Linked DNA regions of Homo sapiens: regions 1 and 3 are each linked to region 2. Evidence: promoter capture Hi-C in 16 types of primary human blood cells and fetal thymus (Javierre and others, 2016). All regions are on one chromosome and are shown on one strand. The core of a region is centred on a gene start or on the middle of the fragment in contact, and the rest is flanking DNA. Distances in the headings are between cores, read along the strand shown.

Evidence for each region. Contacts are between HindIII fragments. The CHiCAGO score rates a contact against its expected background, and 5 or more counts as called.
Region 1: a fragment that was not itself captured here is called in contact with the fragment with the promoter of ZBTB46 in region 2 in 2 of 17 cell types (monocytes and total CD4 T cells); the score reaches 5.7 in monocytes.
Region 3: a fragment that was not itself captured here is called in contact with the fragment with the promoter of ZBTB46 in region 2 in 1 of 17 cell types (monocytes); the score reaches 5.3 in monocytes.

The regions. Positions count from the first base shown.
Region 1 is chr20:63,504,456-63,507,892 of GRCh38, forward strand. It overlaps LOC105372725 (a long non-coding RNA gene), which reads left to right. Exons shown (of 3, transcript XR_937004.3): 2 at 449-541; 3 at 900-1,277. Among named protein-coding and RNA genes, the nearest start is that of EEF1A2, 7.1 kb to the left of the region's middle. The HindIII fragment of the contact is 815 bases long and covers 1,157-1,971 here.
Region 2 is chr20:63,829,625-63,832,975 of GRCh38, forward strand. ZBTB46 (zinc finger and BTB domain containing 46) reads right to left here and starts at 1,640. Exons shown (of 5, transcript NM_001369741.1): 1 at 1,473-1,640. RefSeq lists an enhancer at 1-75 and a silencer at 1,658-1,797. The HindIII fragment of the contact is 15,017 bases long and covers 1-3,351 here.
Region 3 is chr20:63,524,440-63,527,802 of GRCh38, forward strand. No RefSeq gene overlaps it. Among named protein-coding and RNA genes, the nearest start is that of PPDPF, 5.4 kb to the left of the region's middle. The HindIII fragment of the contact is 4,217 bases long and covers 1-3,363 here.

The sequences.
Region 1 (3,437 bases), core at 314-2,813, 330 kb before region 2:
TAGTGGCACAATCATGGTTCACCACAGCTTCGGCCTCCCAGGCTCAAGCGATCCTCCCACCTCAGCCTCCCAAGTATTTGGGACTACAGGTACACACCACCACGCCCAGCTAATTTTTGTATTTTTTATAGAGATAGGGTCTTGCCATGTTGCCTAGGCTGGTCTCCAACTCATGGGCTCAAGTGATCCACCCGCCTTCGTCTCCCAAAGCCCTGGGATTACAGACGCGAACCACTGCACCCAGCTGAGATTCACTTTTTTGAGGAAGGCAATAAAGGGTGAATTTGCAGCTGGAAATAAATCAATTGATAATTGGCTTTTACCCCTTGAGCGTGGGTTGCATTGTCCTGTTTCTTCGTGTGTCTAGTGATTTTTGACTGAATACTGAACATCATGTGGAGAGTCTACTCTGCTTCCTCCTCTGAAGCTGTCGGTGTTTGCTTTGCAGGTTGGTTCACTGCTGGGCCCTGTGGACTTGTTCTCATGCTTTGTCAGTGTCGATGTCGAAAGCCCAAAGTGTTTCCCAAGTCCTGCTACCTTGGTAAGACTCAACCCTCAATCTCAGTCTCCCCTGCAGATCTCTGTGGGGCTTGGTCTGAACTTTCGTTAGGTGAGTGTGGAGTAGGCATTATTGTACATTGTAGTCCTTTCTCCTCAAAAAAAAAAAAAAAAAGTAAGGTCTCTCCACTCTAGCCAGGTCCAAATGCCAAATGCCAATGCCGCCCAAGTCTCTCCACTCTGGCCAGGTCCAAATGCCAAATGCCAAAATACTGCCCGACACAGCTTGTCCTCTACTATCTTTGTTCTGCTCTAACCTGGGTGGATACAACCTCAGGTAATCCCTGGTGAGTCGCAGCCTTGAGTACTTTCCTCCGAGAAACACTACGGTTTGTGTCCAGCCCATAGAACACAGAAAGGTGATAAGTCACTCTGTGATTGGCTGCATCATTCCAGGCTCTGTCCTGGGGGACGGAGCAGCAAGACACCCCTGCTGTCTGTGAAGATATGGCTGTTGGAAGGCATGGGAGGGGCCTCGTATCAGGGAACCAGTGAGTGGCCCCAGGCTGCCAGCCAACAAGAAAGCAGGGACCTCAGTCCTACAGCCACAAGGAACTGAATTCTGCCAACAACCACGTGGCCTTCAAAGAGGACCTCAAGCTTCAGAAAGAAATACCAACACCTTGGTGGCACTCTTGAAACCCCGAGCCACCCAGCGGAATTGTGTGTGGGCTCCTGACCCCCCAAAACTGAGAATAAATGCATGTTTTTTAAAGCTACTAAATCGGTGTTGATTGGTTATGCAGTGACGGATAACAGCACAGGGCCTATAGTCACTGCTCTCTGGTGAGCCTCCGGCACCTCCTCACCCTCAGCCACAGGCTTGCAGAGGTCCCAAGCACTCCCCACCAGCAACATGCACACCTAAGCCCCTCACTCCAGTCTCTGCCTCTCATCCCAGGGGGACTGCCGTGCTCTGCCTGGAGCCCTGCTTGTGGGGTTATGGCCAAGGAGAGCCGGGAGTGTGGGCGCCTCCAAGCACCCTCTCGGTCTTGTGCTGTCCTCACCCCACTGCCTGAAGAGAGCAGCGCACGAATTTTGTCTGGTCTCAGAGTCGTTTCTGGAGGGAGACGTACCTGGCAGCAGCTACTCCCCCGCAACTGGAAGCAGCGGTTGACTCCACATCAATACAAAGACAAGGTTACTTCAGTCTTTTTACTTTTATATTTTATTGTTTTACTATTTTCACGGTATATACATTGGGCCTGTCTTTTTAAAAATCTTTTATGACACTGAAACTTTTGAAGAATGCAAACCGGTTGTTTTGTAGATTGTCCCCGCATTGAGCGTTCCTGACATTTCTGCATGAACAGATTGGCACCAAGAGCCAGGCATCCTTCCCAGCACTCGGGACGCTGGCTGCCCACCAGCGGCAACGGTACCTTTGATCCTCTGGTTAAACTGGCATCCACAAGCTTCTCACAGTAAAGTTACCACTTTGCCCTTTGTAACTGATAAGTAAGCCGGGCACGGTGGCTGACACCTGTAATCCCAGCACTTTGGGAGGCCAAGGCGGGTGGATCACTTGAGCCCAGGAGTTCAAGACCAGCCCGGCCAAAATGGTGAAACCCCATCCCTACTAAAAATTCAAAAATTAGCCAGGTATGGTGGCACATGCCGGTATTCCCAGCTACTCAGGAGGCTGAGTCACGAGAATCGCTGGATCCCGGGAGGCAGAGGTTGCAGTAGCCAAGATCATGCCACTGCACTCCAGCCTGGGTGACAGAGTGAGTGAGAATCTGTCTCAAAAAAAACCCTGAAAATTAACAAGGAAGTACTTTTGATACTGGTGGCCAGGGGAGGTCCCCAAATGCGAATGGGACCTTGACCCAGGCCAGTGTCCTGCCTCTTAACACCATCACAAAACGAATTCAAGGATGAGTTAAAAAATAATGAAAGTAGAGATTTATTGCAAAGCAAAAAGTACACCCTCCAGAAAGCAGAGTGTGGCTGGGTGTGAAGGCTCACGCCTGTAATCCTAACACATTGGGAGGCTGAGGCAGGAGTTCGAGATCAGCCTGGGCAACATAGTGAGACCCTGCCTCATAAAAATAAACAAGCAAATAGAAAAAAAAGTCAAAGAAGAAAGGGGAGTATGGGTGTTCTCAAGAAAGTGAGTCGTGAGGCAGGGTTTGGGGCCCCTACCTTTAATGGGTTTCTTTAACCAAGGAGTGGAATATTCATAAAGATTTCTGGAAAAAGGTGAAGATTTCTAGGAACTGTGGTGCCACCCTTTTTTACACCAAATATGTGTGTTCCTGGAACTGTCATGGCACTGCCGAGTGTGATTTGTGTGTTGATGAGCATATAATTAGGTCACCGGTGAAACCCAGGTCAAGTCCGCTGCCATGTGGGTCCAGTCGTCTCGGCCAGCGTGGCCCAGTGGGTCCAGTCATCTTGTCCAGCTCGGCCCAGTGGGTCCAGTAGTCTCGGCCCAGCTCGGCCCAGTGGGTCCAGTCGTCTCGGCCAGCGTGGCCCAGTGGGTCCAGTCATCTTGTCCAGCTCGGCCCAGTGGGTCCAGTCGTCTCGGCTCAGCTCGGCCCAGTGGGTCCAGTCGTCTCGGCCAGCGTGGCCCAGTGGGTCCAGTTGTCTCGGCTCAGCGTGGCCCAGTGGGTCCAGTCCTCTTGGCCCAGCTCGGCCCAGTGGGTCCAGTCGTCTCGGCCCAGCTCAGCCCAGTGGGTCCAGTCGTCTCGGCCCAGGTCGGCCCAGTGGGTCCAGTCGTCTCGGCCAGCTTGGCCCATGTCCTGGTCTTCAGTGTCTGGTCACCCCCTGGCCTCTGCAGCTTTTTCAACAGCTCTCTTTTGATAGCCATGAAACTGCTACCTGGAATCATCTGTTCTCCTGCGGCCACCCTGTCGTAGTCCTGTCTCACTTTGGGT
Region 2 (3,351 bases), core at 390-2,889:
GCTGAGGTGCCCAAAAGTGCCAGTTGGAAACACGTAAAACACACCGAGCAGAAAGGTTCTACTCTGATAAATACTGTCGCTTGCTTCATTATTCATGTGAAAAACCCCTTCTATACATTTCCTTTTGATGAACAAACTATTTTCCACTCTTGTAGAGTGAAATAGTGCCTTGCAGAGGCAGCGTGAGTGCCAGCAGCAGAGATGTATCCAGTCTGTTACCCAAACGGGAAGTTAGCTCTGATAATAGAGCCAATATGAAAGATTCTACAATCGATACAATTAAAATGCCCGTGAGTTCTCGGCGCACAGGTGTCTGCGCCCAGGCCGCGCGCTAAACACGTTTCTAATTAGCATTTCTTTAAACAATGCTGATCACAATCTTGCCACCGTAATCCACTCCAAATGCATCGTTGAGATTGCAGCACGGAAAGCGAGAGAGGAAATTCGCTGCGAATCTCAAACTTTCTTTTGTTTATATTTCTTCGCTGTCAGAAAATATCCGTTCTTCGCCCCATCTGGTCTGTACCCTGGCTCCTCGGTCCAGCCCTATTGTGTGTGCTTCGTTAAACCTACAAACAGTGAATCTGTCAGCGGGGCCAGGGGAACCCCAACTAGCAGGAGCCCTCCCTCTGGCGCAGAGAATTCCCCGTTTGCCTTAGGGATTGAGTTGTCAGACACCGGCTCGCGCTCCCCCGCGAAACTGACATGTCTATTTACAGAGAAACAAAGACGCGGCTCGCAGCGGACCCCGCTTCCTCCGCGCGCCCCGTCCGCCCCGCGCGCCCCGAGCCCTCCGCGCCCCGAGCCGCCCCGCCCCGAGGCCCCTGCGCCCCGGTTCGGCCGGCGATTAAGATGGAGACCAGGCCGGCGCCCGGCGTCCGGGGAGACAATGACCCCCCGGCCTCAGGGCGCCGGGACCCGCCCGCGCCCACCTCCCGCAGTTCCGACTCTTGGCAAACTCGGCGCGGGCGGCTCCGGGTGCGGCTGGGCTGTGCCGGCGGGGGGCGCGGGCGGGGGGCGCCAAGACGCCCCCGGGCTGCCTCGGGGCCAGGCGTTGACGCAGCAGAAATTACCAGCTGGAAAATTCCCCTCTCGGAGGTGCCGGGGAGGGAGCGCGGCGGCGGCGGGAGGTGCCGGGGGCCGAGGGGCCGGGGCAGCCCAGCCGCCTCCGCGCTCAGCCCCGCGGGGAACCCGCGCCGCCCCCGCGCGCCCCGCCCCGCGCCGCCGGCCTGGGGGGCACCCGCGGGGGCCGGGCCGGGGTCTCCGCCGCCGCCCCCGGAGCCCGCGCCGCAGCTGGGAGCGCCGATGGCCCCCGGGAGGGCGCCCCCGCGGGGCGGGGCGTGGCGGGGCGGCCGGCGGCGGGGGCGCGCCCGGGCTCGCAGCGGCCCCGGCTCCCGGCTCCCGGCTCCGGGCCCGGCCCCCGCCGCGATGCGCCCGCCCGGCCGCGCGGACAATGAGCCGGCGCCGCTTACCTGTGACCCCATGGGGCGCGGGCGAGGGCGGGCGCCGCGGCCGCCGGGCCGGCGCCGGTGATCGCCGCCGCCGCCGGGAGGGCGCTGCGTCCGGGCGGGTCCGAGCTGCGCGCTCGCCGGGGCTGCTCGGTCCGTCCGTCCGTCCGTCGGTCCGTCAGGCCGGCGCGCGCCCCCGCGCCCGCTCCAACCCCGCGGCCCCCGCCGCCCGCGCGCGCGCGCCCCGCCCGCGGACCCTGACCCCGCCCCCCGGCGCGCGCCCGGCCGCCGCTGATTGGCCCGCGCCGCGCCCCGGCCGCGGCCACCGCCCCGGGCCCCGCCCACGCCGGCCCGGCCGCCGGCCCCGCCCCTCGCTCGGCTCCCGGCGCCGCGCCGCGGGGTCGCAGGGGGCCGCGCCGGGGGTCCGTTCTCCCCCCCGCGGGCAGCCGGACAGCGGAAGTGCGGGCTGGAGCTCGCTGGGCATTGTGGGAAGCCCCCTCCCCTGGGCTGGCGGGGGGCTGGGGCGGCGCGGCGCGGGGGTCCCCCTGGCCCCCGCTGCGCCCTTGCCCCGCGAGCGCGGAGCAGCCTGGAAACACCCCACGGGAGCGGCGACCCCGGCGAGGGCACCCGCTCCCTTCCCGGGCCGCGCACCGGGCGCTGCCCACGCGCAGGTTCCTCGGGGGCGCGCGGGTGCCCAGGTCACCGGCCGTCCCCGCGCCTGACGCGCGGTTGCACTGCGCGCGTCTCGCAAACTTGGCGACTCCCCCAGCCCGGCCGGGCATCAACGCGGGCCGCTCGCGGTGCGGAAAAGGCGCCCCCAAGGAAGGCCGCCCGGGGTGCGGGGTCTGGAAGGGCCTGGGCACCGCGCGCGCCTACCCTCGGGGGCCTCGGCGCACCCGGAGATCGGCGCACCTCGGGCGCAGGCCTCGTGGGGGTGCCCGCCAGTGGGGCTCGCTTTTGGCTGACTAGGGGCACCGGCGGCCGCGCGTGGGTCCCTCCCGTCGTGTTGTCTGCGGGGGACGAATGGCTCCGGGAGGGGGCGGGAACCAGCGGCCCGGGCCTCGCCCCAGCCCGTGTGCAGCCCCGATCCGAACGGCCTGGGACGCGTCTCCACCACTCGGCGCCCGGACTCTGCGCGTCGCTTCTCGCCTCCGCCGTCCTCAGCCCTCGGGCGGGTAGAGTGGGAAGCGCGGCCCCGCATTCCTGGCCGGCCTGCGCAGGGGTAAAGGCCACCTCGCTTCCTCTCCCCGGGCGCGGCGGGAAGGGAGGTGAGCCTGTGGCCGGCAGCCGCGCGAGGGAGTCGAGCCCGGCCCGGCCAACCAATGGGGAGGCGCCCGGGCCGTCCAGCCTGCCTCCCTGCGGGCCCAGCGCAGCGGATTCCTCGGGAGGTGGGAGGCGGCGGCCCTATGGGTGCTTTCAAATCTGGATGTGTGAGGCGCATTCAGGAGCGGCAGTGGGAGGCGGCTGAGGGCTCTCCATGAGTGAGCAAAGGCGAAGCGAGGTGTGGCTGCCGGGACCAACGCCTGGGACACTCCCTTACTGCCGTCGCGGGCGCCTGGAAATGGCTGTGCGGACACCCCGTTCCCATCCCCTCGCCAAGGTCGCCGGGATGGCACTGCGGCCCAGGAAGCCCCGTCGCCGGCCTACCTCGCGCGGCACCCTCTCGGTGGCACTGCCTGCTCTGGTCTGAAACTGTAGCCCCAGCCTCACCGACCTTCGGGAAGTGGGGGCTGAGCACAACCACCCTGAGAAGAGGCGGCTTCCAGGAGGGTCTGGCGGGTCACGTGCATCCCCCTTGGAGAAAACAGCACTGCCTGCAGGAGCCCCCACCTGCCCACCCAGAGCCCAGTTGTACCCCACGGAGGAAAGGAGGCCTGGGGAGACAGGAGAGCTCGGGCCCACC
Region 3 (3,363 bases), core at 137-2,636, 310 kb before region 2:
ACTATTGATTAAAACTGGTGGAAAAGGTTGTTTACTGAAACTATGCACGAGTTAAATGGAGAACAAAGAACTGAACATACATGCTGAGTCCTCTAAGAGAAATCTAGAACTCACTGTATCCAACAGACCCTTGAACAAAAGACAGATTAAACTGGGCGCAGTGGCTCACGCCTATATTCCCAACACTTTGGGAGGCTGAGGCAGGTGGATCACTAGAAGCCGGGACTTCAAGTCCAGCTTGGTCAACATGGCAACCAACACGGCAAAACCCTGTTTCTATCAAAAACAAAAAAATTAGCCAGACGTGGCGGTGCATGCCTGGAGTCCCAGCTACTGGGGAGGCTGAGATGGGAGGATCCCCTGAGCCCGGGAGGCGGAGGCTGCGGTGAGCCAAGATTGCGCTACTGCACTCCAGCCTGGGCGTCAGAGAGCAAGACTCTGTCTTAAAAAAAAAAAAGAAAAAGCATACAAACATTTAATGCGAGTTCCATGTGATGTGGGCCCCTTCAAAACAAAGACCAAAGAAATGGTCTATTTCACAGCGGAGCAGGAGTGAGCGGAGGATGGAAGGGTGTGATCAAGGCCCGACTTGACTCTGACATCCCTTTCCTCTGGTTAGGGGGCGGGACACCACGTGAGGGTCTGCAGGGAGAGGGTCTGGGAGTGGCCTTCCTGGGTTTTATGGCCTGCTTCAGGGAAGAAAGGCAGGGAGGTTAGAATGGCCTCAACGGTGAAATATTTATCTTTTTCTTCCTCCCTAATCCCAGAATTCAGAAACTGTTAGTGGGTTTGCATAAGTTCAATGAGAATCTGTTCTTGTAATAGGGCACAATTGAAAACATTGGTTATATTACCAAGGCTTTGACTGGAATGTCCTATTTTCAGATACGACTAAAGGAGTTAGGGTTGACTGCATGGTCCAATAAAGCCCCTTGGAAAAAAGCTGGCCTGGTACCTCACATACGTGGTTCCCTTACAGATGAGTAAAGAATGTCAATTCCTGGCAGGTCCCAGAATCTTAAGATACCTTAGGGACCTCAAGAAGAGAGGAATTCCCCTAAATCTGTACTTATTGCAGGCAAAGTCTGATGGCAAGTCTTTGCGATGGCTTCCTAGCCTCAAGAGGCTTTTAAAAGCCCAATCTCAGATTCCTTATAAAAAGTTCCAGTAGGCCAGGCACAGTGGCTCACACCTGTAATCCCAGCACTTTGGGAGGCCACGGTGGGCAGATCACGAGGTCAGGGGATCGAGACCATCCTGGCTAACACGGTGAAACCCCGTCTCTACTAAAAATAAAAAAATTAGCCGGGCATGGTGGCGGGTGCCTGTAGTCCCAGCTATGCGGGAGGCTGAGGCAGAAGAATGGCATGAACCCGGGAGACGGAGCTTGCAGTGAGCCGAGATCGCGCCACTGCACTCCAGCCTGGGCGACAGAGCAAGACTCCGTCTCAGGAAAAAAAAAAAAAAAAGTTCCAGTAAAGCAAATTTTAAAAGAGCCCACGTGTCCAGGTGTACCTATAATCCCAGCACTTTGGGAGCCTGAGATGGGAGGTTTGCTTGAGCCCAGGAGTTCAGGACTGGCCTGGGCAACATAGTGGGGCTCCCTCTCTACTAAAATACAAATAAATTAGCCAGGTGTGGTGTCACATGCCTGTCGTCCCAGCTACTCTGGAGGGTGGGGCTGGAAGGTGGCTTGAGCCCAGGAGGTCAAGGCAGCAGTGAACCATGATGGTACCACTGCACTCCAGCCTCGGTGACAGGGTGAGGCCCTGTTGGAAAACAAAAATGAGGAAGAACCTATGTGGTTAATCACTATTCTTGTTCCACTTACATAAATAACCACACCAGGTTTAATGAGGCCAAACTTACTCTGCAATCAAATCAATCTTTTATTATCTTTGATAGAAATGTGTTAATTTGAAAACAATCCTACTTTTATTATCTTTGATAGAAATGCGTTAATTTGCAGCCGGTCACGGTGGCTCACACCTGTAATCCCAGCACTTTGGGAAGCCGAGGTGGGCGGATCACCTGAGGTCAGGAGTTCGAGACCAGCCTGGCCAACATGGCAAAACCCTATCTCTACTAAAAATACAAAAATTAGTCGGGCGTGGTAGCAGGCACCTGTAATCCCAGAGACTTGGGAGGCTGAGGCAGGAGAATCACTTGAACCCGAGAGGCAGAGGTTGCAGTGAGCCAATATTGCGCCATTGCACTCCAGCCTGGGCGACAGAGCGAGACTCCATCTCAAAAAAAAAAAGGAAGAAGGAAATTTGTTGGCTGGGTGCGGTGGCTCACACCTGTAATCCCAGCATTTTGGGAGGCCGAGGTGGGTGGATCACCTGAGGTCGGGAGTTCGAGACCAACCTGACCAACGTGAAGAAACCCCATCTCTACTGAAAGTACAAAAATTAGCTGGGCGTGGTGGCGCATGCCTGTAATCCCAGCTACTCGGGAGGCTGAGGCAGGAGAATCACTTGAACCCGGGAGGCAGAGGTTGCCGTGAGCCGAGATCAAGCCATTGCACTCCAGCCTGTGCAATAAGAGCGAAACTCTATCTCAAAAAAAAAAAAAGAAAAAGAAATTTGTTGACTGTAGAGAGAAAAATTATGTTTCAAAATAAAACTCGTGCCCCCACTATTAGACTCTAGCCCGGTTTGCTGTCTGGAGGTTTTGTCGCCCACCTGTGGTCCGGACCGGGTCCTGAACTTCAGTTTCCTCCAATATTTGCCTACAGCTCACCAAACCACTCTTTCCAATTTTTTCTTCCACCATTCCTCATGGAGTCACTGAAAATTAAAACTGCTCTTTTCCCAAAGCCCTGTAAGCTGAAGCTGCCCCACTTGATACAGACTTCAGAGAAATTTCCCCAGCAACTCTCGTACAGACGGCTTTCGTGCCCAGGCTGGGCGCAGCAGCTCAGGCCTGTAGTCCCGAGGCAGGAGGATTGCTAGAGCCCAGGAGTTCGAGACCAGCCTGGGCAACATAGCAAGACCCTGAATCTCCTAAAAAAAAAAAAATTTAAAATTAGCCAGGTGTGGTGGTGCATTCCTGTAGTCCCAACTATTCAGGAGGCTGAGGCGGGAGGATCACTTGAGCCTGGGAATTCAAGGCTGCAATGAGCTGTGGTCACGCCACTGCGCTCCAGCCTGGGTGACAGAGCAAGACCCTGTCTTCAAAAACAAAAACAGAAACAAAAAACGTTTTCTTACATCTGGAAAACAAAATATTAAAGAACCGTAATGCTTCAGACAAAAGTCATTAAACAGTAAACATCCTCGTCAGTTCATTCATTCCCATGTCATTAATTCTTGTTCTGGTTGATCCTGGGACAGAACTTTCATGGACCTGCCAGGTCCCTCC